Linked DNA regions of Homo sapiens: region 2 is linked to region 1. Evidence: promoter capture Hi-C in human tissues and cell types (Jung and others, 2019). All regions are on one chromosome and are shown on one strand. Each heading gives the region's core, a stretch centred on a gene start or on the middle of the fragment in contact. The rest is flanking DNA. Distances are from core to core; before and after follow the strand shown. Region 1 holds the start of ZNF136 (zinc finger protein 136). Region 2 overlaps LOC124904638 (a long non-coding RNA gene).

Evidence for each region. Contacts are between HindIII fragments. The study calls those that stand out against the background at their distance.
Region 2: a fragment that was not itself captured here is called in contact with the fragment with the promoter of ZNF136 in region 1 in 1 of the 25 tissues and cell types used here (small bowel).

Annotation. Positions count from the first base shown.
Region 1 is chr19:12,161,790-12,167,463 of GRCh38, forward strand. ZNF136 (zinc finger protein 136) reads left to right here and starts at 1,307. Exons shown (of 4, transcript NM_003437.5): 1 at 1,307-1,417. The coding sequence starts at 1,415. RefSeq lists enhancers at 1,148-1,237, 1,248-1,407. The HindIII fragment of the contact is 18,447 bases long and covers 1-5,674 here.
Region 2 is chr19:11,580,488-11,586,160 of GRCh38, forward strand. LOC124904638 (a long non-coding RNA gene) reads left to right here. Exons shown (of 2, transcript XR_007067140.1): 2 at 2,930-3,177. It also overlaps the pseudogene GAPDHP76. Among named protein-coding and RNA genes, the nearest start is that of ACP5, 5.7 kb to the left of the region's middle. RefSeq lists enhancers at 1,297-1,496, 3,398-3,537, 3,548-3,607 and a silencer at 1,632-1,797. The HindIII fragment of the contact is 7,524 bases long and covers 657-5,673 here.

The DNA.
Region 1 (5,674 bases), core at 57-2,556:
TAGCGTTCCAGAGAAATGGTTTATGAGCTAGAGAGGTTGGAATTTCAAGGGGCCTAAATTGACCACAGGTGAGAGTTTTCTGCTGGTGTAAATTATTAAGGTATTGAAGGAGGGAGCGTTCCCACATTGTGATGCTGTGACAGGAGGGCATGTTGAGCTCCCAGAGTTAAATCCTTAGGTTTCCTGCCTCATCATCAGGGTCTAATGTACTCTGTGGCTCCACTTCAGCAGTCACTGACTCTTAAGCTTGGGAATATGTTCTACCTTCTGAATTCATCTTTTCCTTTTTAAATGTTCTGAAGTGCCCTGCTTATCTGAGCTAGTTCAAATTTTCGCTTTACTTCCCTTTTGATTTCTTTACAGATTACGGAAATAGAACTTGTTTTTCCATGTATTTAATAATTTTATTCACTTGTTGGCAGTTTTTTATTTTCTTGGGTGAAAATGAGTAGATTGATTTGGGAGGCGAAAGTGGGAGGTTCACTTGAGGCTAGGAGTTCAAGACCAGCCTGGACAACAAACGAAATCCCGTCTCTACAAAAAATTAAAGAATTTGCCGGGCTTGGTGGCATGTACCTGTAGTCTCTACTACTCAGGGGACTGAAGCGGAAGGTTCGCTTGAACCCAGGAGATGGAGGCTGCAGTGAGCTATGATCATGCCATTGCACTCTAACCTGGGTGGCAGAGCTAGACCCTGTCTCAAATAAATAAATAAAGTAATAAATAAGTAAATAAAGTAATAAATAAGTAAATAAAGTAAAAAATAGAGAGAGATAAAGAGGTATGGTATGAGAAAGCCTTGGGCACGCTTCCCATATCCTCATCCCAAATTTCCGATCCCTGGGAATATCACGCCCTTTCTTCTGTTCCAGTCCTGCCTGGAACTCCCTGCGCACACCTGTGACTCCTCATGCAAGAGGTAGATGAAGAAATGACCCACTGAGTACAGGAAGTATCTCCTTTGGTAAACCCGGATTAAGTTCTGCTAAAATGCAAGTATCTCCCATCTCCCCATCCCCCGCAGACCAAGTACAGTGAAGGGGACGAGGGGAAGAAGTCCACCCTGCGTTTGAGGGCTGGGGCCAAGACCCCTCATTCCCGCTTCACTCATCTATGCTTCACATCTCCTGTCATTCACATCTGTCAAGATGCAGGGGGCAGAGCCCGAAGCTGTACCCAATCAGGGGCACCGGGGAGGAGCTCTGCGATCGGTCCAATCAGGCGCGCCGTCGGGGACGCAGCTGCAGACGTTCAACCTTCTCGCGGGATTTTCATTTCTCGCGTCTGCCGTACTTGGTTTCGCTTCGCTAGTCCCAGAGGCCCAGAGTGGCTCGCCTGGAGTCTCTGTGGCGCGGTTTCCTGTACCTGCCTTGGGATCCGGAGGGAGGAAGCTGGGACACCCGGGAGTCAGGAAATGGTGAGTGTGTCGGGCCCTGCGTCCCGAGACAGGGAGGAGGGGCTGGTTGGACGACCGGAACTGGCTGTGGCGCGGCCCGGGCCTTCCCGTGGGCGACTCTGGGTCTGCGTACCGAGTCCCTCTGGCGCAGCTCAGCCCTTGGTACCCTCGGCCTCAGGGTGGGGCTGGGCCGGCAGCCGGGACCCCGGGCGTCCTCGTCCCGCCCTGTGCCGCGATTGCGGCCCCGGCCCCGAAGACCCAAGTCTCTTCAGATTGTGCGGGGCCCACGCGAGGGTCATGGGGTGGGGGAAATCCTGACTTGTGCGTGGAAGGAGCTGTGGTGTATGAGGTTCCCAGTTCCTTTTCTCTCCACAGAGGACACCCGTTTTTCCCTGAGTTTTCTAAGTGTATGGGATGCAGGGTCCCAAATCCTCACTCTGTCCCCCAGCCTGCTGTTTCCAGGGCTTGCAGTAAATCCCCAAATTTCCTGTTCTCTTTTCGCTTTTCCAAACGCCAACCTCTCCCCTTCCATTCACGACATTAGCAACCGTTTCTCCTATATTCTACATTTCAGATATTGTGCTTTCATTGTTTATTTTTCAACAAAGCAATGGATTACTCTTTCATCAAGGTTTGTTTTCTGTTCATAGCCTTGACACTCCGCTGTAAGAAACCTTTGTGCTTGTCCTTTTGTCTCCTCTATGCACAGATACCTCATCAGAATGTCTTTGAGTTGAGGTTCCCCTTTGGAATCTTTACAGGGTGATATGCCTTCAGCGCCCCCTCCTATTTATTTTTTCCTGGTTCTGGGTTTCAAAACTGTCTGGGGCTGACTCAAGCTGCCCACAGCTGCCAAGTCTCTTGGAGGATCTAGTGAATATTGGGTCTTGGGTGAGTCTTCCTAGAGGACAGTTGAAATAGAAGGCTGGGAGAATGCCCTGGGACTAGGATAAATCTAGCATACCCTGCTTCTAAATAGCCAACCTCTGGGGGCACTCAGCTTTTCCTCCCCCAACCCCAGTTTCCATCCTTTGGAGACACACTGGTGGTCAGCCAATCAGATGCTGGTATTGAGGATTGAGAAAAGAAAATTTTTTGTGTGTTTTGAAAGAGTCTCGCTCTGTCGCCTAGGCTGGAGTGCAGTGACGTGATCTCGGCTCACTGCAACCTCCATCTTCTGGGTTCAAGCGATTCTCCTGCCTCAGCCTCCCCTGTAGTTGGGACCACAGTTTTGCGCCACCACTCCCAGATAACTTTTTTTTTTTTTTTTTTTTTTTGAGACGGAGTCTCTCTGTCGCCCAAGCTGGAGTGCAGTGGCGTGATGTCGGCTCACTGCAACCTCTGCCTCCCGGATTCAAGCGATTCTCCTGCCTCAGCCTCCCCAGTACCTGGGACTACAGGCGCATGCCACCACGCCCGGCTAATTTTTTGTGTTTTTAGTAGAGACGGAGTTTCACCTTGTTAGCCAGGATGGTCTTGATCTCCTGACCTCGCGATCCGCCTGCCTTGGCCTCCCAGAGTGCTGGGATTACAGGCGTAACTGTACCCGGCCTCAAAAAAATAATTTTCGTCTGATAAATGTGGGTCCTTTTAAATGAACGGGCACATAGAGACATTCAAGTGATACAGCAATCACCTTCTAACTCCCTGAAGCTATGAATTCATCTTTTGAAACTGCTATTGCCACAAGTAGGTATAATCAACTTACTAATGCAACACGGGACCCTGGAACCCACACCCTATAGCTTAACAGTGCATAGCCACGCGCTTATCAATGTTACTTCTGTAAATCAGTGAGAATTCCTGACAAACAACTTTGTATCAGCCCACATCCTGTCCCCCTTTTTCAGACACTTTGGGTCATATTTTGTGTTTCAGCCTCTACTTTTTAGGTCGACAAGGGAAAAGACGGAAATGATTCCTGTCCTTTGTATTCTCTCAGCCTTGTGAAGGGAGAAAAACTATCTCAGCGAGGTGGTGGAATAACCTGAAAAACAAAATGCACTTTGGGTACACAGTGTCGCGTAATGCAGTGTCTCTTGGGCGGGTGGTCACTGAGCATTTCAGTGAGCACTATGGGGGTAGAGGGATGTTCCAACTGATAGATAAGATGACCTCTGCTGACACTGGAGTCAGACGAATGTCTGTATTCCAGGTCAGCACTGCTTCTCCCTGGGATTCTTGCCTTAACAACAAGTTCAGCTTGAGTATTTCATTTAGTTGAAAGTGCATTTTATCAGTAGAGCTTCATAGAGAAGATAATGTATTTCCCAAGAGGTAGATTTCAGGGGGAAAGAGATTAGTCTTATATTCCACATTTTAAAAATTCTTATTTTCAACGGCTTGTATCTGTATTTCTCCATATTTTGGAGTAATTATCTGCATGATATGTGTAGGTGCTGTGGCTTTTTACCTAAGAAGCAGAATCTCATTCCAGTACATTTGAGAGTCATGATGCCAAATCTTTGATGGTCTGTGTCAGAGACACAAAGTCTACAATGTGTGTGTTCACAGTGGTGTGGATTTTATGCCTCAAGTCACTTAGAAAAGTGTCTTAGAAAACCTGGACAGTGCCCTTGTGTCTTCACAATAATTCTTTTGTGTATTTATGGAGATGATTCTGTAATCTTTTGGGACATGGACCAATGTGTATCTCTTCATACTCATATTCTGCACCATCTGTATGTAGCACGTCAGACTTAGCGGTGTGACCTTAAACTTTTTAAAAGAAACTGGAAGGTCAATAAAATTTAAACTGCTGGCTGGGTGCGGTGGCTCACGCCTGTAATCCCAGCACTTTGGGAGGCTGAAGCAGGTGGATCACCTGAGGTCAGGAGTCTGAGACCAGCCTGGCCAACCTGGTGAAAACTCGTCTCTGCTAAAAATACAAAAATTAGCCAGGTGTGGTGGTGGGCGCCTATAATCCCAGGTACTCAGGAGGCTGAGGCAGGAGAATCACTTGAACCCAGGAAGTGGAAGTTGCAGTGAGTTGAGATCATGCTATTGTGCTCCAGCCTGGGTGACAGAGCAAGACTCCGTCTCAAAAAAAAAAAGAAAAAAAATTTAAACTGCTTAACAACAAATTCTTATTTTCTTTTATTCTTTCCCAGATCATGTGTAGTATATGTGTAGTATGTTTGTCAGATCTGTGTTCTGTTGGGTGACTTGAAATGGAATTCCAGGGCTTAACCTTGAGAATATTATCAGGGAAAAGAAATGGGGGTGGGGAGAACCAACTCTCCTATTATGGCTTCAGAAAAATGAATATAGTTTCCCAAGAAAGTTAGTAGATAAATTGGGGAATTACAAAGATTCACCAAAACATCAATTTCTCTTGCAAGGTGGAGAATTTGTGACGGTGAATAACTGTTCTGTTTCCTGTTATTGGAACTTAGCAGATTCTAAATCTTAGGGAACAGGACCTGGCAACAACTAGGAATCCTCTAATAGGATTTTTGTTTACTAAATGATTTGTTATCATAGAAATAGTAGTTAAGTGACATCTTTGTCTGAAAATAGTAGATTCTTGTGCTTTTTCTGTTCAGCTATGATGTAAATGTGCCTTAATTTTCTTCCCTCCCATAAACATTAAGATTGATTTTGCTGGATTCATCAAACATGAGTCATTAAACATGGGTATTTTCTTTAAATATCCACATGAGGTATGTAAAGGGAAGTGGGTAGCCTTGACTGGGGTGCAGAGGCCTGAGGCCAGCGACTCCAAACTGAGGCCAATCCAAAGGAGTACTGCATAAAGGAAGGCACCAATCAAATATAAGATCTGCAAAGATCTGAAAGTTTAGGCAGAAAAGTGTTTTCTTTCATAGGAAGGGGCAAACAGATTAGAAAGAAGATGAGGAGGAAGAAGGCAGGATGGAGGGTGCAAAATCAGACCTAGATCAGAACATGTTTTATTCTGAGGTTATTCTGTTCTTAGGAAGTGTTGCCTATTTGTTCAGGCTGAGAGTGGGTCAAAGTTAAGGGCCTGGAGGAAATTTACAAGTCAAGGGCTTGCATCTGTAGTTCTCTATATTTTGGAGTAATTATCTACATGATATGTGTAGGTTCTGTGGCTTTTCACCTAAGAAGCAGAATCTCATTCTAGTACATTGAAGAGTCATGAAGCCAAATCTTTGATGGTCTGTGTCAGAGACACAAATTTAAGGAATGTTTGGTTAACAAATGTTTTGTTCCCACTGATCAGTGAAGACAAAACTGTTCAGCTAATGTTTTATGAAGCAAAGAATGGGCATTTGTAGACCTGATGCCATGGCTCAC
Region 2 (5,673 bases), core at 3,169-5,668, 580 kb before region 1:
AGTAATACCCCTGCCCAGAGAGACAGTATCCATTAATTTTTCTCTGCCTATGTTTGTCTTCGGAAAAATGGGATACTATTGGCACTATTTTATAACTTTTTAATTTGTATTAACACTTTCTATATTTTTTAAATTGAAAAAGCTGGCCAAGCATGGTGGCTCAGGCCTGTAAACCCAGCCAATGTGGGAGGATCGCTTGAGCCCGGGAGTTCAGGAACAGCCTGGGCATCGTGGCGAGACCACATTGCTACAAAAAAAAAAAAAAAAAAAAAAAAAATTAGCCAGGCATGGTGGTGCACACCTGTGGTTCCATCTACTCAGGAAGCTGAGGTGGAGGATCGCTTGAGCCTGGGAGTTTGAGGCTGCAATAAGCTACGAATGCACCACTGACCTTCAGCCTGGGCAACACAGCTAGACTCTTGTCTCAGAGAGAGAGAGAGAGAGAGAGAGAGAGCACAATGAAAAAAATAAACCTGATCTTGCACAGAGCATGTAATAAAACCTGTGCGTTCTTGGCTATCTCTCTCTGGTCTCCTCCAGGGTGCTGAATAAGCTCTTCTCTCTCCATTCACCCAGGAGAACTCTCTTCTGCTGATTTTCTGTGGAGCTAGATCAGGCTGTGACTCAGAATCTCCCTCCACCTCCACCCTTTCCTATTTTCCCAACACCAGTGTCAATCTCAGATGTCAACAACCCCACGAGTGAGTTCCTCCTGTTGCCAATACATCCAGGTCCTGTTCTCCGCTGCTGTCTCTACCCAATCCCTTCCCTTCCTTCCTCCTGCCAATCCTGCTTTCCCTGTTTCTTGCTCCTCTGACCTCCTCCGCATTGCTTGACTGTCTCAGATACACTCTGGCCTCAGGGTCTTGGCACTTTCTGTTCTCCCTGCCTGGAAGGGTCTTCCTTAGTCAGATACTGAGGTCACCCATTGTGTTCAAGTTCCTTTAATTTATCTGAAATGAGTCTGGGCGTGGTGGCTCACGCCTGTAATCCCAGCACTTTGGGAAGCCAAGCCGGGTGGATCACTTGAGGCCAGGAGTTCGAGACCAGCCTGGCCAACATGGTGAAACCCCATCTCTACTAAAAATACAGAAATTAGCTGGGCGTGGTGGCACAAACCTGTGGTCCCAGCTACTCAGGAGGTCGAGGCAGGAGAATTGCTTGAACCTGGGAGGCGGAGGTTGCAGTGAGCCAAGATCGTGCCACTGTACTCTAGCCTGGGTGACAGAGTGAGACTCTGTCTCAAAAAAAAAAAAAAAAAAAGAAAAAGATAATTTATCTGAAATTATCTGAAATGCACCACCCTGCCCCCATCATTGACTCTCCTGTTGCTGTAGTTTTCTCTGCAGCACTTACCAGTGCTTGAGAAAACCACCCACTCATTTATCTTGCTTTCAGTTTCTCTTGCTTTCAGTCTGTCTTCAGTTAATGAAAGCTTTTTTTTTCTTTCTTTTTTCTTTTTCTAAAACAGAGTCACCCAGGCTGGAGACCAGTGATGCGATCACGGCTCACTGCAGACTCGACCTTCTGGGCTCAGGGGATCCTCCCACACCCCTTGGCCTCCTGGGGATTGAGACTACAGGCACACACCACCACACCCAGCTAATTTTTGTATTTTTTGTAGAGAGAGGGATTTGTCACCTTGTCCAGGCTGCTCTTGAACTCCTGAGTTCAAGCAATCCTCCCAACTCAGCCCCTCAAAGTGCTGGGATTACAGGTGTGAACCACTGCCCCTGGCCTGTTTATTTAAAAAATTAACATTCATTCTCAGTTTATTGGCTAAGTTTAGAAGTAGTATCAGAATGTTTAAGAGAACTTACTGTTCTCCTTTTATTTGTATGTTTGCATTGTAGATTTTTAATAACTGATAAGGACTTCTCAAGGTGTTTGCTTGGTGGAGACATTTAAAAAGATTAAAGAATAGGCCAGGTGCAGTGGCTCATGCCTGTAATCCCAGCACTTTGGGAGGCCGAGGCGGGTGGATCAAGAGGTCAGGAGATCGAGACCATCCTGGCTAACATGGTGAAACCCCATCTCTACTATAAATACAAAAAATTACCTGGGTGTGGTGGCACGTGCCTGTAGTCCCAGCTACTCAGGAGGCTGAGGCAGGAGAATCGCTTGAACCCGGGAGGCAGAGGTTGCAGTGAGCTGAGATCGCACCATTGCACTCTAGCCTGGGTGGTAGAGCAAGACTCTGTCTCAAAAAATAATAATAATAAATTAAAAGATTAAAGAATAAGCTGGCACAGTGGCTCACACCTGTCATCCCAACACTTTTTGTAGAGACCTCATCTCTTAAAAATAAAATTAGCTGGGCGTGGTTGTGTGCACCTGTAGCCCAGCTACTCAGGAGGCTGAGGTGGGAGCATTGCTCAGGAGGTCGAGGCTGCAGTGAGCCATGATTGCACCACTGCACTCCAGTCTGGGTGACAGAGCTGATACACTGTCTCTAAAAAATAATAATAATTGACCGGGCGCAGTGGCTCACGCCTGTAATCCCATCACTTTGGGAGGCCGAGGCGGGCGGATCACGAGGTCAGGAGATCGAGAGCAACATGGCTAACACGGTGAAACCCCGTCTCTACTAAAAATACAAAAAAATTAGCTGGGCGTGGTGGTGGGCGCCTGTAGTCCCAGCTACTCGGGAGGCTGAGGCAGGAGAATGGCATGAACCTGGGAGGTGGAGCTTGCAGTGAGCCAAGATCGCGCCACTGCACTCCATCCGGCTTGGGTGACAGAGCGAGACTCCATCTCAAAAAAAAAATTAATAATAATAATTATTATTATAGTAGTAAAAGAGTATAGAATAAAATGCATCACACTTATAAAATGTAAAATGTTAATTTCAATCCACTAAACTTATAAACGGACCCAAATATGCATCCAATGACCTCTTAAAGTGATATTTCTTTTTCTTTTTGTTGAGATGGAGTCTCACTCACTCTGTCACCCAAGCTGGAGCGCAGTGGTGTGATCTTCAGCTCGTCCCAACCTCCGTCTCCCAGGTTCAAGCGATTCTCCTGACCTCAAGTGATCCGTCTGCCTTGGCATCCCAAAGTGCTGGGATTACAGGCCTGAGGCCAGGCCCTGAATTAATTTTTTGATGTTTCACTTTGCCAGGTGTATAAGTAACATGTTAGTTGTGATTGTAACTAAATAAAGGCTTAAGGGAAACCGTGTTTCTAAATTTCTAAATTGACTACACATTTACAAAGGAACCCACAAAGATGGATTTTTGGGCCGGGCGCAGTGGCTCACGCCTGTAATCCCAGCACTTTGGGAGGCTGAGGCAGACAGATTGCCTGAGTTCAGGAGTTCAAGATCAGCCTAGGCAACAAGGTGAAACCCTTTCTCTACTAAAATACAAAAAAATTAGCTGGGCATGGCAGCGAGCACCTGTAATCCCAGCTACTTGGGAGGCTGAGGCCGGAGAATTGCTTGAACCAGGGAGGCAGAGGTTGCAGTGAGTCGAGATCACACCACCGCACTCCAGCCTGGGCAACACAGTGAGACTCGATCTTAAAAAAAAAAAAAAAAGATGGACTTTTTCGGGGCCCCAAGGCTTCAAAATTCAAAATGCTGTCATGAGTTAGTTTGATTTGAGGAACCAAAAATTGGCTTTTGTGGCTGGAGCAGAGTGAGCAAGGGGGAAGTGAATCCGGAAGGTTGAGTCTGCAAGGTCAAGGGCAAGGAACAGAGAAGGGTGTGGGTGGGGCAGGTTGCGTGTGCTCTTGGGGGCTGCAGGGAAGGGGGCTTTTATCTGGGTAAGGTGGGAGCCACAGAGGGTTCTGATCAGAGGGACAGATCTGACTTAGATTTTGCATGATGTCCCCCAGCTGTGGGCTGCGGGGCATGGGCTGCTGAATAGGTGGTTTAGGTGGGCAAAGATGGGTCATGGTGCCCCCTACCCTTTAAAAATTAAAAGACAGGGCCAGGAGCAGTGGCTCACGCCTGTAATCCCAGCACTTTGGGAGGCTGAGGTGGGCGGATCACCTGAGGTCAGGTGTTTGAGACCAGCCTGACCAACAAGGTGAAACCCCATCTCTACTAAAAATACAAAAAAAATTAGCTGGGCGTGGTGGCAGCCACCTGTAATCCCAGCTACTCGGGAGGCTGAGGCAGGAGAATCGCTTGAACCCGGGAAGCAGAGGTTGCAGTGAGCCAAGATCGTGCCACTGCACTCCAGCCTGGGCGACAAGAGCAAGACTGTCTCAAATAATAATAATAGGCCGGGTGTGGTGGCTCACACCTGTAATCCCAGCACTTTGGGAGGTTGAGGTGGGTGGATCACTGGAGCCCAGGAGTTTGAGACAAGCCTGGGTGACACAGTGAGACCCCATCTAAATTATTATTATTATTATTATTTGAGACAGAGTCTTGCTCCATCACCCAGGCTGGAGTGCAGTGGCGCGATCTTGGCTCACTGCAAGCTCCGCCTCCCGGGTTCACGCCATTCTCCTGCCTCAGCCTCCCAAGTAGCTGGGACTACAGGTGCCCGCCACCACGCCCAGCTAATTTTTTGTATTTTTTAGTAGAGACGGGGTTTCACCATGTTAGTAAGGATGGTCTGGATCTCCTGACCTTGTGATCCGCCTGCCTTGGCCTCCCAAGGTGCTGGGATTACAGGCGTGAGCCACCATGCCCAGCCTGAATTTTTTTTCTTAAAGATTAAAAAGGCAGAGCCTCTCTGCTCCTCCCATTTGACAGACAGCCACATCTTTTCATGCAGTGAAAAAGGCATGTCCCCGAGACACCGTGGTGAAAGTGAAGACAGGAGTAAATGGATTTGGCCATATTGGGTGCCTGGTCACCAGGGCACCAGAGCTGCTTTTAACTCTGGCAGAATGGATGTTGTCACCTCAATGACCCCTTCATTGACCTCAACTACATGGTCTACATGTTCCAATATGATTCTACCCACGGCAAGTTCCGCGGCACCATCAAAGCTGAGAAGTGGGCTGGGTGTGGTGGCTCATGCTTGTAATCTCAGCTACTTAGGAGGTTGAGGTGGGAGGATCACTTGAGACCAGGAGTTCAGGACCAGCCTAGGCAACATAGGGAGATCCTCTCTCTCTTAAAAAAAAAAAAAAAGAAAAGAAAAGACTGAGAAAGAGAAGGGAAGCTTGTCATCAATAGGAAATGGGAATCTCATCCCCATCTTCTAGAAGCCAGATCCCAGCAAAATCAAATTGGGTGACGATGCTGGCACTGGTTATGTCATGGAGTCCACCAGCAGCATCTTCACGACCATGGGGAAGGCTGGGGCTCGCTTAGGATGGGCAGCCAAAGGGATCACCATCTCTGCCCCCTCTGCCCATGCCCCCATGTTTGTGATGGACATGAACCATGAGAGATACAAAAACCTCATGATCGTCAGCAATGCCTCCTGCACCACCAACTGCTTACCCTCCGGCCAAGGTCATCCGTGACAACGTTTTTTTTTGGTTTGGTTTGGTTTTCTTTCTTTCTTTTTTCTTTTTTTGTTTTAAATAGGGATGGAGGCCAGGTGCAGTGACTCATGCCTGTAATCCCAACACTTTGGGAAGCTGCGGTTGGAGGATCACTTGAGCCTAGGAGTTCAAGACCAGCCTGGCCAACATAGCAAGACTCTGTCTCTACAAAAAGTTTAAAAAAATTATCCAGGCATGGTGGGGTGTATCTGTAGTCCCA